Regions from separate parts of the Homo sapiens genome. Here all the other regions are linked to region 3. Evidence: promoter capture Hi-C in 16 types of primary human blood cells and fetal thymus (Javierre and others, 2016). All regions are on one chromosome and are shown on one strand. Each heading gives the region's core, a stretch centred on a gene start or on the middle of the fragment in contact. The rest is flanking DNA. Distances are from core to core; before and after follow the strand shown.

What was found. The method cuts DNA at HindIII sites, captures the fragments that hold promoters and counts their contacts. A CHiCAGO score of 5 or more calls a contact.
Region 1: a contact is called between a fragment that was not itself captured here and the fragment with the promoter of PARP12 in region 3, in 1 of 17 cell types (monocytes). The highest score is 5.1, in monocytes.
Region 2: a contact is called between a fragment that was not itself captured here and the fragment with the promoter of PARP12 in region 3, in 1 of 17 cell types (M0 macrophages). The highest score is 5.1, in M0 macrophages.

The regions. Positions count from the first base shown.
Region 1 is chr7:139,495,407-139,498,652 of GRCh38, forward strand. No RefSeq gene overlaps it. Among named protein-coding and RNA genes, the nearest start is that of KLRG2, 13 kb to the left of the region's middle. RefSeq lists an enhancer at 177-356. The HindIII fragment of the contact is 3,389 bases long and covers 1-3,139 here.
Region 2 is chr7:139,356,775-139,360,124 of GRCh38, forward strand. All of the region lies in intron 2 of FMC1-LUC7L2 (FMC1-LUC7L2 readthrough), which reads left to right. LUC7L2 (LUC7 like 2, pre-mRNA splicing factor) reads left to right here and starts at 3,120. Exons shown (of 10, transcript NM_016019.5): 1 at 3,120-3,350. RefSeq lists enhancers at 2,255-2,384, 3,105-3,154. The HindIII fragment of the contact is 5,233 bases long and covers 1-3,350 here.
Region 3 is chr7:140,061,033-140,064,225 of GRCh38, forward strand. It overlaps PARP12 (poly(ADP-ribose) polymerase family member 12), which reads right to left and starts at 1,919. Exons shown (of 12, transcript NM_022750.4): 1 at 1,490-1,919. The coding sequence starts at 1,815. RefSeq lists a silencer at 1,527-1,846 and an enhancer at 1,857-2,066. The HindIII fragment of the contact is 6,136 bases long and covers 1-3,193 here.

The DNA of each region.
Region 1 (3,246 bases), core at 195-2,694, 570 kb before region 3:
CTGCTGTCAGGAGCAGGGATGATGAGTTGCTCCACTCCAGGGATCTCATTCACATCTGCACTGGGTGAATGGCACCCGCTGGGGCTAAGCAGCCCACAGCCTGCTCTGCTGAATGCGCAGCCCTGGTGAACAGCCCCTCTCCTAGAGCCTGTGCCTGGGCCCCAATGGGTTGCTAGACTGCAGAGGAAGATGTGGGGGTCTCCTCACAAGACCCTGACTACCCACTTTGGCCCGACTGTGTGGAGCTCGATGAGGACAAAGAGACTGAATTCATTTAAAACCCACCAGATTCTGGTTCCACCTGGATCTAAGAGATTGGTCCTCCCAGGGAAGTCAGGCCACTGCAGGAAAGCTGGATGTCAGGGTAGATAGCAGGGCTGGAGGCAGCGAGCAGCCTGGGCTGCTCAGGATTAAAGGGGAGACGCAAAGCCTCAGCAGCGCCACAGCCCTCTGGGGGGTCAGTTTTGCCTGATGGTCTCTCGGGCCCTGGAGTTGGCTCTATCAGGACTGAACTGGCCTGGCCACCTCTGCCTGTCCTCAGTCTGAGGTCCACTGCCCAGCCAGGCCCTGGTGCGTGTCAGTCCTGTCTTGCTTCTGTGACCTGCCTTCACCTGTTCTCTCCATCTCCTCTGCCCACCTCAGGACAGGAGAGTATGCTTCCTGAGAGCTGTCGGATATTGGGAGGATTCTGAACACTCAAGGACTTGCCTGTGTGAAACAGAGGAGGGGTCTCACATGACCACCGTGCCTCTCCAGGGACACTCACACACCCCAAAAGGGAGCAGCCCTAGAATCCAGGGATTCCCCACACCCTGCTCCCAAATCACAGTCACTCCATCCTGCAGGCCCCAAAACCAGCACACTTCAAGGCCAGATCCTCCTTTGGACCTTAATCCAAACCACGTGTCCCTTTTCTCTAGGGGCTCAGGGTTACACTCCACCTCCCGCCACACATCCAGCCCTCAGTGCCCCTATTAACCCAAAACTGGCAATGGCAGGGGGAACAACCCAGCCAGGACTTGCTATCCATGGGCATTTTGTGCCAAGCTCTTCTGTACCTGTTGGGACCACCCTCAAGGGTGCAAATCAACTGTGGCCCGGAAAAAGCCTGAAATTCCCTCATTCCCCTGAAAGTGGGAGTTGTGAGGACAGACCCTCCTTGGCCCAGGTTAATAACTCTGGCAATAACCATGGCCTTTAAGGGAGATTGGGGGCACACAACGACACTACAACACATCAACACTAACATCCATGCATATGGCTTGGCTGGGGAGGAGGGTTTCATGACAGCACCACGCGGGGTTGAATCAGACATGTGCTTTTCAAGCAGCGAGAATATCCGGTCAGATATCTGCACAGTCCTTTGTGGTACAAGCATAACATGATCACCAGCCTGTCAAATACGAGGAGTCAGGTGGCTGGAGGAAGATGGTCACAGCCCATAAAGAGGCTTTTCTCCCGAGTAAAAGCCGCATTCGTCAGTTAGAGAAGAATAAATGTCCGATGAGGAGCCTCTGGCTTCAGGGGAAATCTACTTCAGAAAATAGTTGAGGCCGGGCATGGTGGTTCATGCCTGTAATCCCAGCACTTTGGGAGGCCGAGGCAGGTGGACCATTTGAGATTAGGAGTTCGAGACCAGCCTGACCAACATGGTGAAACCTCGTATCTACTAAAAATACGAAAAAATTAGCTGGACGTGGTGCACGCCTGCAGTCCCAGCTACTCAGGAGGCTGAGGCAGGAGAATTGCTTGAACCTGGGAGGTGGACGTTGCAGTGAGCCGACATTGCGCCACTGCACTCCAGCCTGGGTGACAGAGCGAGACTCCATCTCAAAAAAAAAAAAAAAAAGAAAATAGTTTAAATGCTTTGCTAAAATTTTTAATTTCATTTTCTAAAAGTTGGTATCTGGTTGTCCTTTTCTTAATGCAAAGTGAGAACGTTCCCTACCACAGACCCAGTGAATATGATCCAGATTATGTTGCCATGAACATGTGGTCCAAAATGCCTGCTCAGGTTTTCAGGATGCAGAGTTTCGCTTTGCTGAATTCTAAGCAGATATAAATATGTTAAGGGTGAAGAGTAGAGGAGGATCAGGGTCAGATGAATGGGAGAATGAGAAAGAAAGTTGGACCAGTTTGGGTCCTAATCATAAACATCTTGAAGCCGGACGCAGTGGCTCTTGTCTGTAATCCCAGCACTTTGGGAGGCTGAGGTGGGCGGATCACTTGAGCTCAGGAGTTCGAGAACAGCCTGGGCAACATGATAGAACCCCACCTCTATTAAAAATACAAAAATTAGCCAGGCGTGGTGGCAGGCACCTGTAATCCCAGCTACTCAGGAGGCTGAGGGAGAAGAATCGCTTGAACCCAGGAGGCGGAGGTTAAAGTGAGCTGAGATTGTGCCACTGCACTCCAGCCTGGGCAACAGAGCGAGACCCCATCTCAAAAAACAAACAAACAAACAAACAAACAAAAAAACATCATGAGGGCGTCAGACAAGTGGAAATTGTCAGCCATCACTTAGCTCTGGCTGAAGTGAACAAAACCCTTCCGTAGATGTGACCGTCTTTTTTTTTTTTTTTTTGAGACAGAGTCTCACTCTGTTGCCCAGGCTGGAGTGCAGTGGCTCGATCTCTGCTAACTACAATCCCCGCCTCCCAGGTTCAAATGGTTCTCATGCCTCAGCCTCCTGAGCAGCTGCGATTACAGGTGTGTGCTACTACACCAGGCTAATTTTTTTTTTTTTTTTTTTTTTTTAGAGACGGGTTTTGCGAAGTTGCCCAGGCTAGTCGCGAGCTCCTGAGCTCAAGTGATGCGCCCACCTCAGCCTCCCAAAGTACTGGGATTACAGGCATGAGTCACTGCCTCCGATATATAGAAGTGATCTTCTAAGGGACAAATCTAACATCTCTAACGATCTTGGGACCAAGTCCATGGATCCACTGAGGTCCACCCTCCTCCCTAAGGGAATAGACACTCCTACTACTGAGTACCCATCAGAGACACCAGGCCCCCGAGGACAAAATCATTTGCCATTTTGTGATCACGGGGGCTCAGACTGCACTTTATAAATCCACATATATAACTCTGATGGGAATTTCAAGGCCCAGCTTGGGAGATCGACCATTGTCAAGTTTAAAGCTTTGCTTTCATTGCTAACAATTCTAGTTTCGTGATGAACCTTTTACACTTCAGGAAAAATCGGTTTATTATTTCACTTGTGGGTAATGGGAGTTTCTAGGGAAG
Region 2 (3,350 bases), core at 114-2,613, 700 kb before region 3:
TCACAAAAATAGGCCGTGGGCTGCATTTGGCCTGTGGACCGTAGCTTGCTGACTCCTGTGCTAAAGGATAAACTTCAGACAAAAAGGAAATGATCCCAGATGGACAGGCAGAGATTTCCGAAGGAATGAAGAGCAAAATAAGTGGTAAATAAAGAACATTGATTATATAAAACTTGGTTTTAAAAAATAAGAGAACTAAAAGACCTGGTAACAAGAGCATATAACTTGGGATGAGAGTAAATGGAGTTAGTGTTCTAGGTTCCTTGTATTACCTCTCTTGGGGGAGGGGAGTATAAAGGTATTGATTAAATTAGACTTTGATACCTTAAGGATACACATTATAACTTCTAGGGTAATCACTGAAAGAATAAAAATATAATAAAATGAAACTTCCACACTACTAGAGTGGAAGAAATTGGAATGATTAAAAATCAGGCAGGAAAGGAGAGAAAAACATGAAATAGATGAGACAAATAGGCAAAAATAAGAGTTTTAAACCCAAACACAGGAGTAATTACATGAATATAAATCATCAATGCTTCCAAGAGTGAACATCACTTAATTCACTCCTCAATTTCACTCCTCAATTTTGATCATTATGTATTGTATAGACTATTTTTAAGCCCCAATTATATGCTGTTTATAAGACATCTAAAATAAAAAAAAGAACTCAAATCTCTTCAACAAAACATAATTATTGGTTTTAGTGTATTTCTTTAAATACACTGTTTTTCAGGGTCAGATCACATTGTGTACATAATAGTGTATCCCTCAAAGACATATTAATTTGCACATTTTTCTATTATTATAAATCAGTTCCCAAAGGATATCCTAGTATTTGGAGTTTGGAATTCAGAGTTCTCTGAATAACTGAAGAGAAGCTATTTTGTGTATTACTAAAGATAACTTGATTCAAAATAATTTTTTTTTTTTTTTTGAGATGGAGTCTCACACTCACCAGGGCTGGAGTGCAATGGCGCGATCTCGGCTCACTGCAACCTCCGCCTCTTGGGTTCAAGCGGTTCTCCTGCCTCAGCCTCCGGTGTAGCTGGGACTACAGGCATGCGCCACCACGCCCAGCTCATTTTTTCTATTTTTAGTAGAGACAGGGTTTCACCATGTTGGCAGGCTGGTCTCAAACTCCCGACCTCGTGATTCGCCCGCCTCGGCCTCCCAAAGTGCTGGGATTCCAGGTGTGAGCCACTGCGTCCGACCTCAAAAATTTTCATTGGCCCAATACGCATTTATTTTTGAGATAGAGTCTTGCTTTGTACCCAGCCTGGAGTGCAGTGGCATAATCTCGGCTTACTGCAACCTCCACTTCCCGGGTTCAAGTGATTCTCCTGCCTCAGCCTCCGAGTAGCTGGGATTACAGGCACGCGCATCCATGCCCGGCTAATTTTTGTATTTTTAGTAGAGATGGAATTTCACCATGTTGGTCAGGCTGGTCTCGAACTCCTGACCTCAAGGTGATCCGCCCGCCTCTGCCTCCCAAAGTACTGGGATTACAGGCATGAGCCATCCCTCCCAGCCGCAATATACATTTAAAGGAATTTTGGGACTATTACTACTATTCATGTTTTTTATTGATCTGCTAATAACAGTTCCAAGGCGATGAGTATACAGTGTTAATGGAACACAAATCTCTATTATTTCCTTTCAAAGTATCCAGGAAGTGCCTGTCTTCTTAAACATTTGATTTTATTAACTCATTCTTCTTACAGTTTTAAATTTCTTTTTAGGCGATGAATATACAGTGTTAATGGAACACAAATCTCTATTATGTCCTTTCAAAGTATCTAGAAAGTGCCTGTCTTCTTAAACATTTGGTTTTATTAACTCATTCATTTTTCTTACAGTTTTAGATTTCTTTTTAAGCAACCTTTCTTCCTGCACACTGACCTATGTCTTACTTAAGGAATTTTTTTTTTTAGAAGTCTCGCTCTGTCGCGCAGGTTGCAGCGCAGTGGCGTCATCTCGACTCACTGCAACCTCCGTCTCCCGGGTTCAAACGATTCTCCTGCCTCAGCCTCCCGAGTAGCTGGGGAGGCGCCCGCCATCACGCCCGGCTAATTTTTATATTTTTAGTAGAGACAGGGTTTCACCATGTTGGCCAGGCTGATCTTGAACTCCTGACCTCAGGCAATCCACCTCCCTTGGCCTCCCAAAGTGCGGGGTTTACAGGCGTGAGCCACCGCGCCCGGCAAGGAATTAATATTTTACTAAAACAGTTTTTAGAAACACCAGGGAAAGGCTCAGGGCTAAGTATTTTATTCCAGTTTGTTCTAACAGCCACGCCATAGCAGACGTGTGACCACCTCCACCAGCCCTACGAGGGGTAGAACTGAAGCCAAGGCCCCAGTCACGGGCCGGGCTTCAGAATCCAGGCTTCCCTGCGGCCAGCGCCGCTGGCTCCCTGCTCCCCGAGATCGCCTCCCCAGTAGCTGAGAATACGCTGAGTTTTTATGGTTTCACATTCAGACTAAGCCGCCCGCGACCTTGTAGGTAAAGATGAATCCGAATGGGTCGGCGCGCCTGTTTCCTAGGGTACTGCTTTCGGGCGCTTTCTCCTGAAGTTGACACTTCCCAGCCGAGGAGCCTTAAAGCCCCACGCAGCGGAAGGAACGCGGCCCCGGCGGCGGCGAGACAGGCCTGCTCCCGGCCGGGAAAGGCGCACGAGAACCAGGACGCGTCCACGCCACTCGGGGCGGGCGTTCGCCCCGAGCACGCCCACCTCAGACGCCAAGGAGGCTGACCGCAGTCCGGTCGACGATGGGCATGGTCTCTACTTACTTTCCGCCCAGGCTAACCTCTAGCGCATTTTGCTAATTTGGGTCTGAATCGCCATCACCGCGGGCAGCGCAGCCTTAGCCGCCAGCCCTACAGCCGGGAGGGAATGTAATGTAAGGTTTGGCGCCTCGGGGCGGATCCGGCTTGCACAGTCAGTTAAGGAACCAGAGTATCGCGAGATCCGGGGTAAAGGGGCGGGAGGAGCGCGCGTGCACGCGCCCAGAGCCGTTAGGGTGGAACTCCACTCGGGCGGGGCGGGCGGAGTGATACAGCTGGACGCCAGTTGGTGGAGCCCCCGCGGGAAACGACTGAGCGCGAGGAGCGTGCGCGCTCCCGTCGTGGCGACGGTGGCGGCGAGCGGCGTCAGAGCTTGAGGGGGGGTTGACGGCTTCTGGCGGGTGGCGGTGTTGAAGGCGAGAGCTTGCTTGGCCCGTGTCGCTTCTGTCCCAAGAACCGGACGGAGAGTGAGGGCACGAGGGTCGCTGTCGGGGGCTGTCGTCTTCCACGTACACGTCGTCGTGAGGAGCGCAGTCCGGACTCTTCCCGCAACCCCTCCGGCT
Region 3 (3,193 bases), core at 669-3,168:
TCGTCACCTCTCACATATCCTCTCATCACACCGTCACCAGCTATCCCAAATTTCTCACACACATAGCCCTTGGAAAGCTCTAATCTAGATACTTCCAGACAGCTGCTTCCTAGAGGCATTTCCCAGTCACCCTGCATCTAGACAGGGTCACGAGACAGCTTCTGGTCAATGGGATGTGGGTGAAAGGAAATCCACCACTTCTAGACCTGGCCCACAAAAACCTCCCATGCATCCCTCTTTTCGATCAGCCCCCTCGAACTTGATAACCTAGGCTGGCCTCAAGAGCCATGTGCTGAGGGGCACAGAGCGGAGGTCAGTCAGCCTGCATCCCTGAATGACTGTATGGATCAAGGCCCCCACCCCATGCTCACTACTGGGCCTGACATGAGCAAGAAATATCTACTCTATTAAGACAAACATACACACACACACACAAAACAGGGAGCAAGCAAGAAAGGAGGGAGCAGGGGAGGAAGGAATTCTCCTTGATGACTAGCTTCCCAGTGGTTCCCCCACAACATCCTCCCTTAAATTGGCACCCACACCACTACCTTAGACTTCCTAAAACGCAAACCTGATGGTTGCTCTCTCCTGCCATTTTACCCGCCCCATCACCTCCAGGGTGAGGCCCAAATTCTTTAGCATAAACCTCAGCAATCCCTTCCACACATCCCACTGGCCACATGCTATGCACAGAACATGGACGCTAAGTGCTGGGGAGACAGCTGGAGCCTCTGCCCTCAGGGAGTTTCTATTCTACTGGCAGCTGGGTGCCATGAGGAAAATAAACAGTTCCCTGTGACCAAGAGTAAGGGGAGGAAAAATCCTCAAATGGGATGTGATCTTTAGGTTGAGGCCTGAAGGATTAACAAATAGGGCCAACCAAGAGCAAGAAGGGCATTCCAGGCAGAGCAAAGACTCCCAGAAATGCCCAGGCTCCCAGAAATGCCCGGGGGGGGGGGGGTGTTCCAGTCACAGAAGGGTCCTGGGTGGGCAGGGACCAGTGCCCCAGGACCTTGTGGGCGATGGCAGGGAGTCTGCATTTTCCAGTTTGTAAGCAGATTAATAGGGTTGAACTGGGTTTAAAGATCTCTACCAGCTGCTGGGCAGAGAAAACCTTCATTGTCTGGCCTCAAAGCTGGCAAGGGGCGACCCGCGGCGTCGTGGAGTTCCCCTAAGCCGCCGCCTCCCTCCCTCCCCACCCCACACGGCCACACCCGGGTGTTCCACCCGGCACTACCATGCTCTATGTAAATCACTCTCTCCCCCCAGGCGTCTAGAGGACCCCACTCGACCCTGAGTCCCTCGCACTGTGCCAGGTACTCCGCAGGTGCTCATTAAACGCTCGCTTTAGTGAATGACGGTGCGAGGTCAGGGCAGAGCCACCGAATTGTCTGCTCAAACTTCAAGTAGGACCCCCAAGCGGGCTGGAAGTGCGTGAGGGCGCGCAGGACCTCCGCCCGCCGTCGCTCCCGGCGCGGCGCCTTACCCGGCTCTCAGGAACTTGCAGGCGCCGTAGACCATGAACCTGCAGAGGTGGAGCTGCGCGCAGAGCCCCACGCAGCCCGGCTTGGAGCCCTGGTGCGCGCGACACAGGCGCAGCGGCGAGGCGGCCAGCACCACGCGCTCCGGGGCCGCGGCTGCGCCGCCCGCCCGCACCGCCACCACGAAGCGCCCACGCTGCCGCAGCAGCCGCTCCAGCGCGTCGGCGCTCAAGCCCATCCGCAAGCGGCGCCGCAGCTCGGGCAACTCCAGGGCGCCCCCGGCCGCGCACAGCACCTGGGTGACCTCACCGACGACGCCGGCCTGGGCCATGGCCGCTGGGCCTGCTCCCGTCGGACCGCGGGTGGCGCGACGCGGACGGCGGCGGACGCTGGCTGGCGGGCGGCTCTCGCAGGGTGGAGACGCCGGCGGGAAACGAAACCGAAAGCGGCCCCGGGCCGGCGAAAAACAGAACCTGTGCGCCCTCGCCACGCCCCCGGTCCGCAGCTGAGCGGCTGCGCCTTCCGCCTCAGGGCCCCCAGCTGTGAGGCCGCCGCCCGACGGAAGCTCGGGAGCTCTTGAGCTCGGGCGTTCGGCCCGGAGCGCGGGCTGTGGCTGTGGCGGCTCGCGGGGGTCAGTACCTAGTCCCTGAAAATGGCTTCCCTGGATGTTTGAGGGACCAGGAGCCCCTAATGCCGCGATGCTCAGCGCGCCTTCAGTCAGAGGGAGCCTCGAGGGCGGCGGCAGCGCTGGCGGAGCCGGCTGGACGCCGCCGGTTAAAGCCGCTCAGCGTCGCCCAGGCCAAGCCCGGGCTTCGTAGACGGCTCACAGAAACAGGGACAACTGACGGGAGCTCTCACCCCTCGAACAAGTGACAAAAGCGATCACTCCGCATAGAAGACGCACTTAATTAAAGGTTCCTTTCGCCTCGGTGCATCAATGAGTTCCTTCATTTAAACATAAAAGGGTATGTCCTTTAAAAGAGCAAATCCGTGAGCCGAGATTGCGCGACTGCACTCCAGCCTGGGCGACAGAGCGAGACTCCGTCTCAAAAAATAAAATAAAATAAAATAAAATCCGTTACTCCCAGCCCCTGCTAAGTAACGATTGAACAAATATTTTAGAAGACCCTTCAGAGCAAAGGACCCTCTCACACGCTGAGAGCAATGCGAGTTGTTAGAGCCCTTTGAGGAGGTAATCCAGGAATAGCTATTAAAATTGAAAACGCGTGTGACCTTTGACCCAGCAATCTTTCCTCTCGGAATCTTCCAGAAGTAAAAGGAACAGTAAATAAGTTATGTGTGAAAGTGTTACTGGGGGAACCCTACCTGGGAGGTAGGGTTACGTGGGAACAGTGTGGTTGATCTTTAAAGACTATTACGAAGGCTGTTTAACAAGCATGCGTTAGAGCTCCGTGTGCGGATGTAGAGGGGCAGACAGCCATGATGTGGTGGTAAACGAGAAAAGATGGCTGTACAGAAATGTCTAAATAATCAAGTTGAATGATCAAGAATTAATTTTTTTAAATGTCTGAATAACAAAAAGAGAAGCCTGTGTGTGTGTGTGTGGCAGGATATTTTTGAATAAGCACGGAGAAAGATGAAGAAACACACAAGGGTAGTTGAGAGGAGGCAGTAGGAGGTATTAGGAAAATGGAAAAGGGAAGATGAGAGGCAGAAGGATTGTGGGGGGAGAGTACTTACGGTATACG